Regions from separate parts of the Homo sapiens genome. Here regions 1, 2, 3 and 5 are each linked to region 4. Evidence: promoter capture Hi-C in human tissues and cell types (Jung and others, 2019). All regions are on one chromosome and are shown on one strand. The core of a region is centred on a gene start or on the middle of the fragment in contact, and the rest is flanking DNA. Distances in the headings are between cores, read along the strand shown.

The links. Contacts are between HindIII fragments. The study calls those that stand out against the background at their distance.
Region 1: a contact is called between the fragment with the promoter of C15orf62 here and the fragment with the promoter of KNSTRN in region 4, in 1 of the 25 tissues and cell types used here (lymphoblastoid cells).
Region 2: a fragment that was not itself captured here is called in contact with the fragment with the promoter of KNSTRN in region 4 in 2 of the 25 tissues and cell types used here (IMR-90 fibroblasts and mesenchymal stem cells).
Region 3: the fragment with the promoter of EIF2AK4 here is called in contact with the fragment with the promoter of KNSTRN in region 4 in 1 of the 25 tissues and cell types used here (adrenal gland).
Region 5: a fragment that was not itself captured here is called in contact with the fragment with the promoter of KNSTRN in region 4 in 2 of the 25 tissues and cell types used here (psoas muscle and thymus).

Annotation. Positions count from the first base shown.
Region 1 is chr15:40,768,717-40,771,416 of GRCh38, reverse strand. C15orf62 (chromosome 15 open reading frame 62) reads right to left here and starts at 1,437. Exons shown (of 1, transcript NM_001130448.3): 1 at 1-1,437. The coding sequence starts at 921. The coding sequence ends at 394. The region is part of intron 10 of DNAJC17 (DnaJ heat shock protein family (Hsp40) member C17); the gene reads left to right. RefSeq lists enhancers at 304-920, 878-967, 921-1,539, 2,158-2,700. The HindIII fragment of the contact is 9,899 bases long and covers 1-2,700 here.
Region 2 is chr15:40,049,112-40,051,811 of GRCh38, reverse strand. The region is part of intron 2 of SRP14-DT (SRP14 divergent transcript); the gene reads right to left. Among named protein-coding and RNA genes, the nearest start is that of SRP14-DT, 11 kb to the right of the region's middle. The HindIII fragment of the contact is 7,633 bases long and covers 1-2,700 here.
Region 3 is chr15:39,932,794-39,935,493 of GRCh38, reverse strand. It overlaps EIF2AK4 (eukaryotic translation initiation factor 2 alpha kinase 4), which reads right to left and starts at 1,379. Exons shown (of 39, transcript NM_001013703.4): 1 at 1,155-1,379. The coding sequence starts at 1,298. RefSeq lists a silencer at 1,097-1,506 and an enhancer at 1,527-1,666. The HindIII fragment of the contact is 10,364 bases long and covers 1-2,700 here.
Region 4 is chr15:40,381,411-40,384,110 of GRCh38, reverse strand. It overlaps KNSTRN (kinetochore localized astrin (SPAG5) binding protein), which reads right to left and starts at 1,390. Exons shown (of 9, transcript NM_033286.4): 1 at 1,067-1,390; 2 at 789-883. The coding sequence starts at 1,275. RefSeq lists enhancers at 312-833, 899-1,068, 834-1,357, 1,317-1,386, 2,012-2,512. The HindIII fragment of the contact is 15,043 bases long and covers 1-2,700 here.
Region 5 is chr15:40,066,054-40,068,753 of GRCh38, reverse strand. It overlaps SRP14-DT (SRP14 divergent transcript), which reads right to left. Exons shown (of 3, transcript NR_040060.1): 3 at 1,245-2,700. Among named protein-coding and RNA genes, the nearest start is that of SRP14-DT, 28 kb to the right of the region's middle. RefSeq lists a silencer at 251-434. The HindIII fragment of the contact is 7,878 bases long and covers 1-2,700 here.

The DNA.
Region 1 (2,700 bases), core at 188-2,687, 390 kb before region 4:
TGTCCTCCCACTCCCTGATCTGACCCCGTGCCACCTTCTGGCTCTGCCAGCCTCTACCTGGTTCCTGTAGTGCCGCACAGAGCCTCCCTTTCCCGGCACAGCCTCCCTTTCCCGGCATAGCCAGCTTTCTTCAGGGTCCTGCCAGGAAGGGCCGCCCCCCCAACATTTCCAGATTGCCTCTGTCCCTCCACTCTGGGGTGCCTGGAAGGACTGTCCAGGACCCAGAGAGCAGGCAGAGCCCTGGATTCCTATCCTGGAATCCTCCCCCAGGATGAAGAAGCTCTGCCTGCCTGAACCCTCCAGCGATGGGCCTGGAGTCCTGTCCCTGTCCTTTCCTTAATCCCCAGCCTCTGGATCTTCCAGTCACCCCGGCTTTGCCCACCCTCACCCCATTTAGAAGCTGGGCTCGCTAGGAAACTGCTCCCTTAGCATCTGCAGAACTTCCTCAAGAAGTGAAATCCCCAGGTCCACTTTGAAGGAGAGGAAGGGATCACTGAGGTCTGGGGTAGGTGTCCTCTGGAAGCAGGGAGTGTCCACAAGGCCCTTCTCTGAGTGCTGGTGGAGGGCACTCGACAGAGAGAGCGCCGATGGCAGGGTGGCAGAGTAGGCTGCTGTGTAGGCAGGTGGGGGCTCCAGGATGTTGGGGCAGCTTGAGCTCTCTCGGTAGAGGCGTGGGGGCTTGGGTGGGGCCAGCAGGGTGGCCCGGGGCTGCTCGTCCCCCCACAGTGGCAGGCGCCGGCCATCTGGCCTCCCTTGTAGCTCCCGGATGACTTCTCGGTTGCTGTACTCCTCGTGGTCCCCACCTGCTGTGCTGGCCTGGCTAAGCACACTACTCTGTCGCCGGAGCCGCCGTGGCCGCCCCAGGCTCAGCTGCTTGAAGAAGGAGGCGTTGCGGAAGGAGCCTTTCCGCCAGGTCTCCATGGGGCCCAGGGGAGCCAGCAGACAGGTGTTCAGGAGCAGCCAGGGTGCATGTGGTCCCTGCTGGGGCAGTGAGTGCCAGCAGCTGGGGAGGCTCCCCTAGGAGCAGAGGCCTCAGGGTTTCCACTCAGCACAGACCTTTGACCACATCTTGGATGGTGAGAGGAGGGCTCAGGAAGAAGGAACTTTTTTGCCCAGGAGAGCAGACAGCTGGGAGTTCCTGGCAGCAAGAGTTTCCCACAGGGACAGGAGTGGCCTGGTTACTGAATAGGGTAGTGGAAAAAAACCCAGGAGGAAGAAGCAGCACTTACTGGAGCCAGAATGAGGGCAGCTCCGGCGGAGGCAGAGGTGGACCTTCTCGGGCTGGGTGAGGCTGGCGAGCGCTCCTTCCACAGGCAGGCAGCAGATGGCCCGAGCTCACTCGCCCTGGTGTTTGCCTGGCTCCTATATGTCTCTGGGGCAGTGTGGGGCCGTGCCCTCTCTGCCAGTGGCTCCCGGACTCTGATGAGTGGCCTGGCTGTTTGTGGCGGTGGAGATGTGTTTTTGTTCTCAGCTGACTCAGTCAGGTGGGAAGCCAGGTTTCGTGCTCTTGGGTAATTGCAGCATCCGCGTGCAGGGATGGGGCAGCTGGGACCAACACCCCAGGGCAATGGGGAGCTTAAGATTCCTCTGGGGACTCGTGTGGGGGCAGCCCTGCTTTATGTGTCACCACGCGGCTTCCTTTCTGATCACAGCCCCACCACCCTGGGCCCCCAGCAGGTGCGCCTGGCTCCCTGCCCACAGTGTCTGGGTAGGAAGAGTTCGGGGCGGGTGGGAGTTAATTGAAAGGCAGGCGTGTGGAACGATTGTTGGGGAAGGAAGAGACCTGTAGCTGGTATGGGTGACTCAGCCCCGCTGTCAGGCCCTCACGAGCAGGAACAGGAAGGGGGGCAGAGGGTGTGTTAATGGGGAGCAGCGCCATGCCTGTGATGGGCGGGCTCTGCTGCCCAGGGTTGGGCTGGGGGCCCGCCAAGGGTGGCTCCAAGTTTTCTTGGCAGAGCAGCATTAACCTGGGGATGGGAGATGTGGCCTCCTCTTGGCCTGCCATCAGCCTGGCTGCTATTTCCTTGTCCTCCCTTGTTTTACCCTAGAGGGCTCCTGCCAGGAGAGCGGCTGCTGAAGGCCGGGCCGTGTTGCCTCCTACCTGGCTGTGCTCCAGCCCTTCCCCTCTGGCTACCGGGCTTCCTCTGGGGTCCTCCTTCTCTTGCAGGAGGCTGGGCCAGGGAGGCTGCCGTGAATTGTCAGCCGTGCTCTGGGCCAGGCTTAGCAGTCCGGCCTAGCTGGGACTGCTGCAGCCGGGGAGAGGGGAGGGGTGCAGCCATCGGGAGGAACAGGGGAACCCAGGCTGAGTAACACTTCCTGTTTCTCTACACCCCTTACTCCAAACCTGCTGGCCAGGGCCTGGCATCTCAACCCTAGCTGCTCCCTTCCTATTCCCCGGGTCACTGACCACCACATTTTCCTCCTGCCTTGCTCTGTGACAGCGTCCCCATGCGGGGTACCGCGGATCAGGGCCCCACAGCTCTCTGCTACGGGCAGGCCACCGCATCTTGCAATCCCTGGCCTAGCTCACTTCTGTGCCAACTCAGGTGTGCTTCACACTTCTCTGAGAAGCTGTTGGGACCACATGATCATCACACAGCCTAAGCGGCACCGAGGGAGGAAAAGGTTTAATTCCCACCGCAGACCTTATCAGGGCGTGGGTTGGCAGCTTAGGTCCCGCTGTAGAGCTGCTTCTCCACC
Region 2 (2,700 bases), core at 93-2,592, 330 kb after region 4:
CTAACCCTGTCTTGATCTTTCTGGCGGCCAGCTCCCATCTTGAAGCTACCTAGGTGCTTAGCGTGCAAAAAGACACTTAAAACTTAGGAGATTCCAAGGATTTTAGGAGTTGTATGTCAGGAATGAAGACCTAATTAATACCTGTTTCACAATATCACAGGCACTAACTGCAGGTAGTCAGTGTCAGAATTGACACTGAATCCAATTGCAGGATGCCCCGTTGGTGTCAGAGAATAGTTGTCAGAACATACAAAGAGGACTCTTCCCTAAGATTCACATCACACTCCTTCTCCTGCCTGAAATGGCACTCTGCTCCCCGCAGTAACTAGTCCACTAGTCTGTTTTTCTAAATTCTTTCTTCCCTTCAAAGTCCACCTCCTTCACAGCTTGGTACTAGTGATGCTGTCCTGTAGCCCTTTCTTGCATGTATAACTCCGCACCTCCCACTAGGTAGCATCTGCTTTTGAAGAGAGAGACCTGGGGAAGGCTTGCCCTGGACAAAGGAGTTGCCCGCTAAATGCTCATCGGTGGATAGAAGGGGAAGGCTGCATTGAAGTGAGGAAGGCTGCTGGCCTGGCGAGCATTCCTCAAGAAGAAGCCTCGGCTTCAGGCCTCTCCCCCTCCCTCCTTCCTCTGTTGGCTGTGAGAAGCAGTGTCTTGGGATGGGCCGGGTTTCGGGGCGCTGGATCTGCAGTTCCAGCATCATTGCCCTGACAGTAAATACAAAATTTTGGCATCTTCTCTGCTGCGATTGCCAGGGCTCACCCAGGCCAACACCCGCCCCCTCCCCACACACCACACTCCACACACACACCACACACCCCCACACTCCACACACACATCCCCACCCTCCCCACACACCACACACTCCCCACTCCAGACACACACACCACACCCCCCATACCACACACGCACCATCACCCCACACCCCCTACACACATCCACACACACTACCTCCTTACACACACACACCCACACCGCACCACACACCCCCACACACCACACCCCCCACACACCACATACACCACTGCCCATGCATACCACACCCCCTCACACGCGCACACACACCATGCACACACAAACCCCCCCCACACTACACACTCCTCACACACACACAACCCCCCACACATGCCACATGACACCTCCCCACACACCACACACAACCACACAGACGCACACACCACACCCCACACCACACACACCACCGCCCCCGCACACCACAATCCCCCACACACCACACACTCCTCACACACACCACACCCCCCACACACACCACTCCCCCACACACCACACACCCTCACAACTTCCTCACACTCCCCCTACACACACACACACACACACACACACACACACACACACACAAGGGCTAGACCATGCCTAGCCTATGTCTGCCTCATTTTGGGCCGCAGTTGAAAACCACTAAACATGGCCATAGTCTGGCCTTGTTACTCCTCTCTCCCTTGCTGTTTGGCAAAGGGCCAGTAGAGAACAGTGTGTTCCCCCTTGCACACTTTCTCACCCACCTTCCACCTCACACACTCCACCTTTCCCTGAAGCTGCCTCCAAAAGCCTAGGTTTATGTCTCCTTCAACAGCTCTGACAGAGTCTGGTTGACCCAAGCCATGTGGGTAATTGGTGGGGGCAGACAGCCATGCTACCCATCCCCTCAACACCCTGGAAGATGAGCAGGCAGCAGACAGGTGGGGGCTACACTGGGCTCCTCCTCCCAGGCAGGCCCATGTGAGAGGTTTCACAAAGTGACCTAGAGGCACTTAGGAAGCCCAGGGCCTTCTTCCACATCACTGCCCACGGGGAACTGCTCTGAGTTGCTAGGCCTAGATCTGGCTTCAGAAAAAGCATGGCTCCTGCGTGATCTTTGGGCCTCCACCTTCACTCCTTCTTCCAGCCCCCACCTCCTCTGAAGGCCTCTCTCAGCATATGCTGGGTCTTAGAAGGAGAGAATATTAGCCATTTATACCCTCAGGGAAATTTAAATGGCCATGTTAAGTTTTAGCTGTAACTGGAATGAAAGGCCTGGTCCCCAGTTACAGGAATTGTAAGGAGCAGCTTCAGTGGAAAAGAGGGTTGGGAGGATGGGATGTGTCTTTCCTGGTATTACTGTGACCCACTCCCCATGTTCTGCTTGTCAAGCAATCTGGAAGAATTCTTGCTCTTCCCCACCAAGTGTTGGGCAATCTTCTAGAATACTACCTCTTAAGATATTCTGAGTCCAAATCTCCCAAGATTTTCTCCCAAATCTCTTTATGGTGAGGATCTGGGGAAAACAAAATCCCATCCTATTTCAAGTTCTGAATAGAATACAATTCCATTTTATCTTGCCCTCAATTGGATTCTCATCCTAATTTCTTTCCCAGCTATACTAGCCCCCAAACAGTCATTACAGCAATCCCAAAGTTACCTGACAGCATTGGAGTCTCACATTTAAAACTGGAAGGGACTTTACAGCTCAATCCCAACTCCCCAAGTTACAGAGGAAGAAACTCAAGTCCGGCAAAAAGTGACTTGTCCAAGGTCCCACGCCAATGAGTGGCAGAATTCAGATTAGAACTCAGCACTTCGGCTGCCACTCCAGTGCTGTTTCTGTAAGGCCACAACCACTTCACATCCCCACTCAATTTAGAGTTTGAGGCCTGGAGTTTAGGTACTATTTTTGGAGACATTGTTGGAAGTTCCAGGATG
Region 3 (2,700 bases), core at 130-2,629, 450 kb after region 4:
ACCAGGTGTAGTGGCATGTGCCTGTAGTCCCAGGTACTTGACAGGCTGAGGCAGAAGGATTGCTTGAGAATAAGCTGCAGTGAGCCGTGGTCATGCCTCTGCACTCCAGCTTGGGAGACAGAGCAAGACCCTGTCTCAAAAAGAAAAAAAAAAAAAGCAGATGAAGTTAGAACTATGTTTTAAATGATAATATGATAATATTCAGAAATAGTTTGGTAGATCAACTCTTCAAGGATGGGGAAAAAACTGTCAGTATAAATACTTTATAACGTGCCTTAATTTCCAGACAAAAAGGCAAAATATTATTTTAAACAAAATGCCATTTTAAAAGGTCTAGAGCTAGAGCAAGCTGGTCTAACCCGAGGCCCATGGGCCGCTTTGAATGTGGCCCAACACGCATTCGTAAACTTTCTTAAAACATTGAGGTTTTTTTGCGAATTTTTTTTTTCTTTTAGGTCATCAGCTATCCTTAGTGTTAGTGTATTTTGTGTGTGGCCCAGGGAAGCCAAAAGATTGGACACTCCTTCTCTAGACTCAGTCTAGAACCCTCTCTCTACTACAGCTAAGATGAATGTGTGCTTTATTCTGAGCTAAATGTCTTAGAGGAAGGTGCAGAGGTATGGAAAGTTCCTCCATACCGGAAAACACAGTGAGGATGCCTGGGGAGTACAGAGGGAATTATGTGGCGTGCAGATTTGAATGCATGGATGAGACTTGAGAATTCTGATTGAGGACGTAAGGCCTGTGCGAGAGCCCAAAAAGCGTTCTCAGAACAAAGTAGCAAGGGGCGCGTATGAATTGCTGTGGTATCATCCGCAAGGGCTTTCAGAGGGGAAAAAGGACAAGGTTGGAAGGAGGCAGTTATGTTATGGGATGTAGGCAGGAATAAGAAGCAGTGCCAGGTAAGAGGGAGGAATCCAGGGGGATTCCTCTGGGGAAATCATGGGGAAAGGACTGTAGAAGAATTCGGCCTAGGTGGGATTCTGCAGACCAGCTGCAGGTGCAAGGACTAAAGTGAGCATGGGTGGAACCTAAGGGATGAAAAGACTGCAGGATCCTAAAGCGGCGGCCCAATCTGGAAGTGTCCGGGCTTTGGCCCAGGGCCCGGGGAGGCCAGGGCACGCCAGCCCGGGCCTGACAAGCCACGTTCCTACCGGTCCGCAAGCGTCCGGCCGCAGGTCTTGGAAGTCCGCGCCGTAAATGGCCTCCAGGGCCTGTAGCTCGTGGTCCTGTCGTTGCGGGTAGCTCTCCGGAGGCTCGTCCCGGCCGCGCCCGGGGGCCCCACGGCCCCCAGCCATGGCAGCGCTGCGCCCAAGGCAGGGCGGCCTTGCCTGGGCGGCGGTGGGCCCCCGGCAGCCTGCGGGGCGGGGCTCCGCGCTGGGGACGGGCTATGGGCGGTGTTCCACGCTGGAAACGGGCTCGTGGGCGGGGTTCCGCGCCGGGGACGGGCCGTAGGCGGAGCTCCGCGCCGGGAGCTAGCTCCGGAGGCTCCAGAAGCCCAGGCGAAGGAAGAAGGCAGGGGGACAGCTTTGCCCACATCCTGCTGGGGGAAGGGGAGCAAAGGAACTCCACGAACTTAAGAAATGAATCACAGATAGGAATGAAAACGCCACATTGTATAGTTTTCACGAAACAAGTATCTTTAACAGAAGTGCTTGCTGGAACTTCTCCACCCTGGCATGGCTAGTGCGGGAAACTCTTTTTTCTTTTTTTTGGCAGAGTTTCGGCTCTTGTTCCCCAGGCTGGAGTGCAGTGGCGCGATCTCGGCTCACTGCAACTTCCGCCTGCCGGGTTCACGCGATTCTCCTGCGTCAGCCTCCAGAGTAGCTGGGACTACAGGCGCGCACCACCACGCCCGGCTAATTTTTCTATTTTTAGTAGAGATGGTGTTTCACCATGTTGGCCAAGATGTTCTCGATCTCCTGACCTTGTGATCCGCCCGCCTCGGCCTTCCAAAGTGCTGGGATTACAGGCATGAGCCACCGCGCCCGGCCGGGAAACTCTTAAAGGGCAGACGTCGATGGGTTCTGAGGTCACTTCTAATTTCACCTTGTACCTTCCCAGAACAAGACTACCGGGAGTAAAAATTGTGACCCCCCCCACCCTCCTTCCTCCCACTTTAGTACCCCCAAACTTATTCTCTGAGCCACAGATTCAACACCCTCATTATGTTCTCTGTCTCTACATTCCCCAGCTTTGGGGATCTCCACTACCACCTTGCAAATTCAATTGAAAACTGTCTTTCCACTCAGGCATCTTTATGAGCTACCTTCCCATGAAGAGAATCATGTTCCCTTCCCAGTTCACTCAGTGTGAATTTAGGGAGTCTTTGTGTTATATCCTGCCTCAAGTCGTCGTTTTTCAAGTTTATAAAATAATAACCTGTCTACCCAGACATTGTTATTGCACTTCATCTTCAGTAACTTACTAATGCTGCATGTCCATTTCGAATAATCCTATTGTACTAACCCAAGTTAGGTTTAAGTGACGTTTCTTCTGTCTACCTTGCTTACTCCTCCACTGTTCACTAAATAATGATTGTGTAAATTCCTTGCTGCCATCTATCCACTCATTTCTGGCCAGATAACACAAATGCACTAGCTTGACCCAAGGCCAATTTAAATCATCATCTTCCCTCTGCTGGAGACCCGTTCCTTCTCCAGTGATCTCTGACTAGGTAAATGGCACCATTCAACTGAG
Region 4 (2,700 bases), core at 141-2,640:
TGAGCCACCGTGCCTGGCCACTTCAGCGCTCCATCTTGCCAAGGTTTATGTACCAGCTGAGTGGAATCATCTGGGAAGGGATCATAAATAGCTACTCCATAATCTCCCACAACAGTTTTCTGATGTCTGAAGCTTACTCTGTACTATAATCTCTAGATTAGGCAGTTCCCCGACTGCAGACCCCATGAGATGACTTTCAACCACAAGCAAAGCAACACAAAGCAGATGGCAAAGCAATTAAAAACTATTTTTAATCATGTCTCTCTCTTCGCCCAAGTTTCTCAAATACTGTGCCTAGGTCTAACCCCTCTCTCCCACTTCACTCAACAAACGTGTATTGAGAATGTGGTAATGAGAAACACGGTGCAGATATAAAGGTGAACAAAGAACCCTAAGTATCCCACTTCTCAAATGATTCTCCTCTTTCCTCCCTGAAAACAAACCCAATCCCTCAAGATAGCCCAAGTCTGGAAATAAGACGATAACCGATTAGAAGGGGATTCCTAGCTTAATGGGAATAACATTGTACAATAACCAACAACTTGAATCTAACTGATGAATACAGTACACATGCGGGCAGAAAAGTGCAGAGCACGTCTAAAATCCTACCACATGGTCCTTCCCTTAACTCCCATCATAAACCTACATAGCCTGGTTATAGGGGGCTCACAGGTTTTCAGGGCCGACGGGACGCCCTTCCCCGTGCCCGCGCCACCCATTCGATCTCCACACTCCCGAGACCATCCCCGGCCAGGCCGCAGTGCCCCGGGCGTGGCTTGGACCCTCACCTGCCGGCTGGCCGCCGCTCAGCGCAGAGGGGGGCTGCAGGCTATACACTGTCTTAACCACACTGGTCATCGTAACGAGGCGGCACGGCTGAACCCTGGAAGGTACAGGATGAATGTTACCCAGCGCTGGGCCACTGGGCCCGAGAGAGTGGAGGGCCCGGGGATAGCGCGACCCGACAGGCCCCGGCTCGGGGTTGGAAAAGAGAAAATCCTCCTTTCCCAGCTCATTCCGTCCTTCCTCCCATCCAGCCCAGTCCCTCGCCCCGGGAGAGCCGAACCCAGGAGCCCGCCGGTCCTGCCCGCAGTCCTTCTCGCTCTCGTTTAAAAGATTCCCTGCAGCAACTGTCGTGCCACCGGCTAAGTCGGCCGCCTGGGTTTCAAATAGAAACTTCCGGTAGCTAGGCGGAAGTGGGTGGGAATCGCACTCTGTAGACAGCCATGTTGTACGGAAAACTCTGTCCAGGGGCGGGGCTTCGGGAGCCGCCATACTGTACGGAAGGTTCGCTCAGAGGCCAGAGCCAGACCTAGCGAAAGGTGTTGGAGCCCCCAGGTCTGGGCAGAGGAGGAGGGTGATGCAATTTGTAGGCTTGAATGGAGCTAATGAGCTACCAGCGTCATATTCCGGGATGGAGACGCAAACGTGGCGACATTTAGGGTCCATGTCACAATCCTCTTTATTTAGTTTGGGATTGTTAGGGATATTGCCAGGAGCACAGGTTATTTGGATGAAAACTACACGTTACAGGTGGAGAGTGGCAGGTGAGGCTTGAAGAAAAGGACCTATGGGCTGAGATACCTGAGGCACCTACCTGAGGTCCTAATTTTAATAGCACTTATCCAGATTTTCAGTAGTGATTCAAAGCTACTCCCAATAAACAGGGTAGCTTCCATTACTAAATGCACTAGCTCATTCATTTCATCTGGCATTTATTGAGTACCTGCTGATTACCCAACAGTGTTCTCAGTGGGTGGAAGGGAGTGAGGGAGGGCAAATATCAAGATTGACCTTGGCTCTGCCCTCCTGGAGTTTACAACTTAGAAAACAGACAGTGAACAAATAATCACATAAATAAATATATATTTACGGATTGTGGTGAAATTGTGAAGAAGGCTGGGCACAGTGGCTCACAGCTGTAATTATAGCACTTTGGGAGGTGGAGGCGGGTGAATTGCTTGAGTCCAGGAGTTTGAGACCACCCTGGGCGACATGGTGCAACCCCGTCTCTACAAAAAATACAGAAATTAGCCAGGTGTCGTGGCATGCTCCTGTAGTCCCAGCTACCCTGGAGGCTGAGGTGGGGGAATTATGTGACCCTGGGCGGGGCAGAGGTTGCAGTGAGCGGAGATCGCGCCACTGCACTTCACCCTGGGTGACAGAGCGTGATCTCAAAAATCAAACCAAAACACACACACTATGAAGAAAAAGTACAAAATCGTATAAGATAGAAAAGCAGGGAAACTTAGATTATATTGGGGGCTCAGGGAAGACCTCTCTGAGATGATGTTTGATTAAGGAAGGAGAGGGAGTTAATTTCATTGGGGAAAGGGGAAAATGCAAAGTCCCAAGGCAGAAATGGGTTCTTCTATAGGCACAGAAAGATAGGAAGAGAGTGGTACAGATAAAGCTGGAGAAATAAGCAGTCAAAAGACAGATTTTACAGGCCAAGGTATAGAGATTAGATTTTATCTAAAAGTAATGGAAAGCCACTGAAGTATTATAGCAGGAGAGTGTCATCCAATTTATATTTTATTTTATTTTATTATTATTTTTTGAGACAGGGTCTCACTCTGTTGCCCAGGCTGGAGTGCAATCATAGTTCACTGCAACCTTGAACTCCTGGGCTCAGGAGATCCTCCCACCTCGGCCTCCTGAGTAGCTAAGACTAAAGGTGCCTGCCACCAGACCCAGCTA
Region 5 (2,700 bases), core at 93-2,592, 320 kb after region 4:
ATTATATTTTATAGTCAAAAAATTCAAAGAAAAATGAATATTGATATTTTCAAATACAAATTGTATCTTTCTTTTAAATGTCCAATGGAATCTAAATGCCAGAGCAATTCTGTGTCCAACATTATCCATTAAAAAAAATAGGGGAACAAACGCTAATTAAACAGCTTAGAAGTTTACATTATTTCGTTCTCTCCAAGAACTTGTATTTCCATTTCACTCCTGTTACAGATTTTATGCTAATGTAAGGGTTTTTTTTTGTTTGTTTGTTTGTTTTTTTTTTGAGGCAGGGTTTTGCTCTGTTGCCCAGGCTGGAGTGCAGTGGTGTGATCCTGATTCACTGCAGCCTCAATCTCCTGGGCTCAGGTGATTCCCCCACCTCGGCCTTCTGAGTAGCTGGAACTACAGGCCTGCACCACCATGCCCTGCTAATTTTTGTATTTTTTGTAGAGACACAGTTTCACCATATTGCCCAGGCTGGTCTCCAATTCCTAGGCTCAAATGATCCGCCCACCTCGGCCTCCCAAAGTGTTGAGATTATAGGTGTGAGCCACAGCACCCAGCCTGTATTTATTTTTTATGCTTGAAAATCTTTTATTGGCTAGGCATGGTGGTTCATGACTGTAATCCCAGTACTTTGGGGAGGCTGAGGCAGGAGGATGGCTTGAGCCCAGGAGGTCAAGGCTGCAGTGAGCCATGATTGCACCACTGCACTCTAGCCTGACTAACAAAGGGAGAAGTTGTCTCAAAAAAAAAAAAAAAAAAAAGAAAGAAAGAAAAATCTTTGATTGATTATTGTATTAAATAAAATTTAAAGATTAAAACTTCTGGCCGGGACTGGTGGCTCACACCTGTAATCCCAACACTTTGGGAAGCCGAGGGGCAGATCACGAGGTCAAGAGGTCAAGACCATCCTGGCCAACATGGTGAAACCCTGTCTCTACTAAAAATACAAAAATTAGCTAGGCGTGATGGCACACACCTGTAGTCCCAGCTACTTGGGAGGCTGAGGCAGGAGAATCGCTTGAACCCGGGAGGTGGAGGTTGCAGAGAGCTGAAATTGCGCCTCTGCACTCCAGCCTGGGTAACAGAGCAAGACTCCTTCTCAAAAAAAAAAAAAAAAAAAAAAATTCCTCTGTTCCCAAAGCTGAGCATTAATTTTTTGGTTATGAGTTTAGTGTTAGAATAGTTTATATCCAATTGATCAGAGCAATGTAAATAATTACGAAATTTGATAAACAACTATTAAACATAAAAGGTAAATTTTTATTGGAAATGCATCTCTTAATAAAATAGTTGGGGTTGGGACAGGTTTTCTTCCCAATTAGTGTATGTATATGTGGATGACTTATTGCTAGACTCACACAAGGTTCAACATGAAGTTTACTCCCATGTTTAGTCTTTTGTAGGTTTAAACATTGAGAAACACTGTCCACATAAATAAATAAATGGAAGCCGATGAGTTTGTTATGAGGATGCCATTCAATTCTTTGAACTTCTTCCAAGTTATATGCCTAATAACATTATTATCAAAATGTTTTTTTATGATCCGCTGGCAATTTGATTAGTGCCTCTTTCAATTTTGCTGAAAGCAGAGCTGGAAACCACTTGACTTGCAGAAAGACTTGCTCCTCTGTCACTTGACCCCCAGGAGTCACTTTGTTTGATGCCTTGGAGATTTCTACCCCTAGGGCAGTGCCCCAGAGTGGGGGGTCACATGGGTGAGAGGGGCAGCTTTCTCTTGTAAAGCTGTCTTCCCCAGCAAATGGGAAAGGGGATGCCTTGTCTTGGATGCCTTTTTAGGAATATCGCTTTTAGGAAAAAGAGCATAGAAAAACTGAGGATCAGAAAATCGATTCTCCTCAAACTATCTTGATTCACAAACCCCTTTGGGCACCCCTGGGGGTATGTCACAATTTTATGAGTAAGAGACTGGAAATGTACCTGGGGGCCAGAACGTAAGTTTTGACTCCTCTGCTAGGAGTGAGCTCAAAAATGGATATGATTCAAATACATAGATGCCTGTGGCCAATATTCCGGATCTTCACAGTCCTCGGAATGCCCTGGCAGGGCTAAACTCCTTTTAGTCCAGTCCTCCTCAAGCTCAGACCTGCAACCTCTTCATTCTTACTGTGTATTGAGGGTTCCCTGAACTGAAGGAAGAAAGTGTCTGGAGGGTGGGAGAGACCGTGTGTGGCAGAGTTAGAAACATCAGTCTATCTCAGGGTCCTAGACAAGTGATCTCCACATAATCAGCAACAGATGGTCAGGCAGCACCTCCAAATATTTGTATCCTTATCAATCATATTTATGTGTGACTGCCAATCCATATGTCATGTGTATTAAGCTTTATTTTAGGTTTTTTTATTTTTTTGAGACGGAGTCTTGCTCTGTCACCCAGGCTGGGGTGTAGTGGCGCGATCTCGGCTCACTGCAACCTCTGCCTCCCGGGTTCAAGCGATGCTCATGCCTCAGCCTCCCAAGTAGCTGGGACTACAGGCACGCACCACCATGCCTGGATAATTTTTGGTAGAGACAGGATTTCACCACATTGGCCAGGCTGGTCTCGAACTCCTGACCTCAAATGATCCACCCACCTCAGCCTCCCAAAGTGCTGGGATTACAGGTGTGAGCCACCGTGCCCGGCCTGTATTCCCTATTCTTAATAGATTATCTTGTAAACCTTCTTTGTAGCCCATTTCT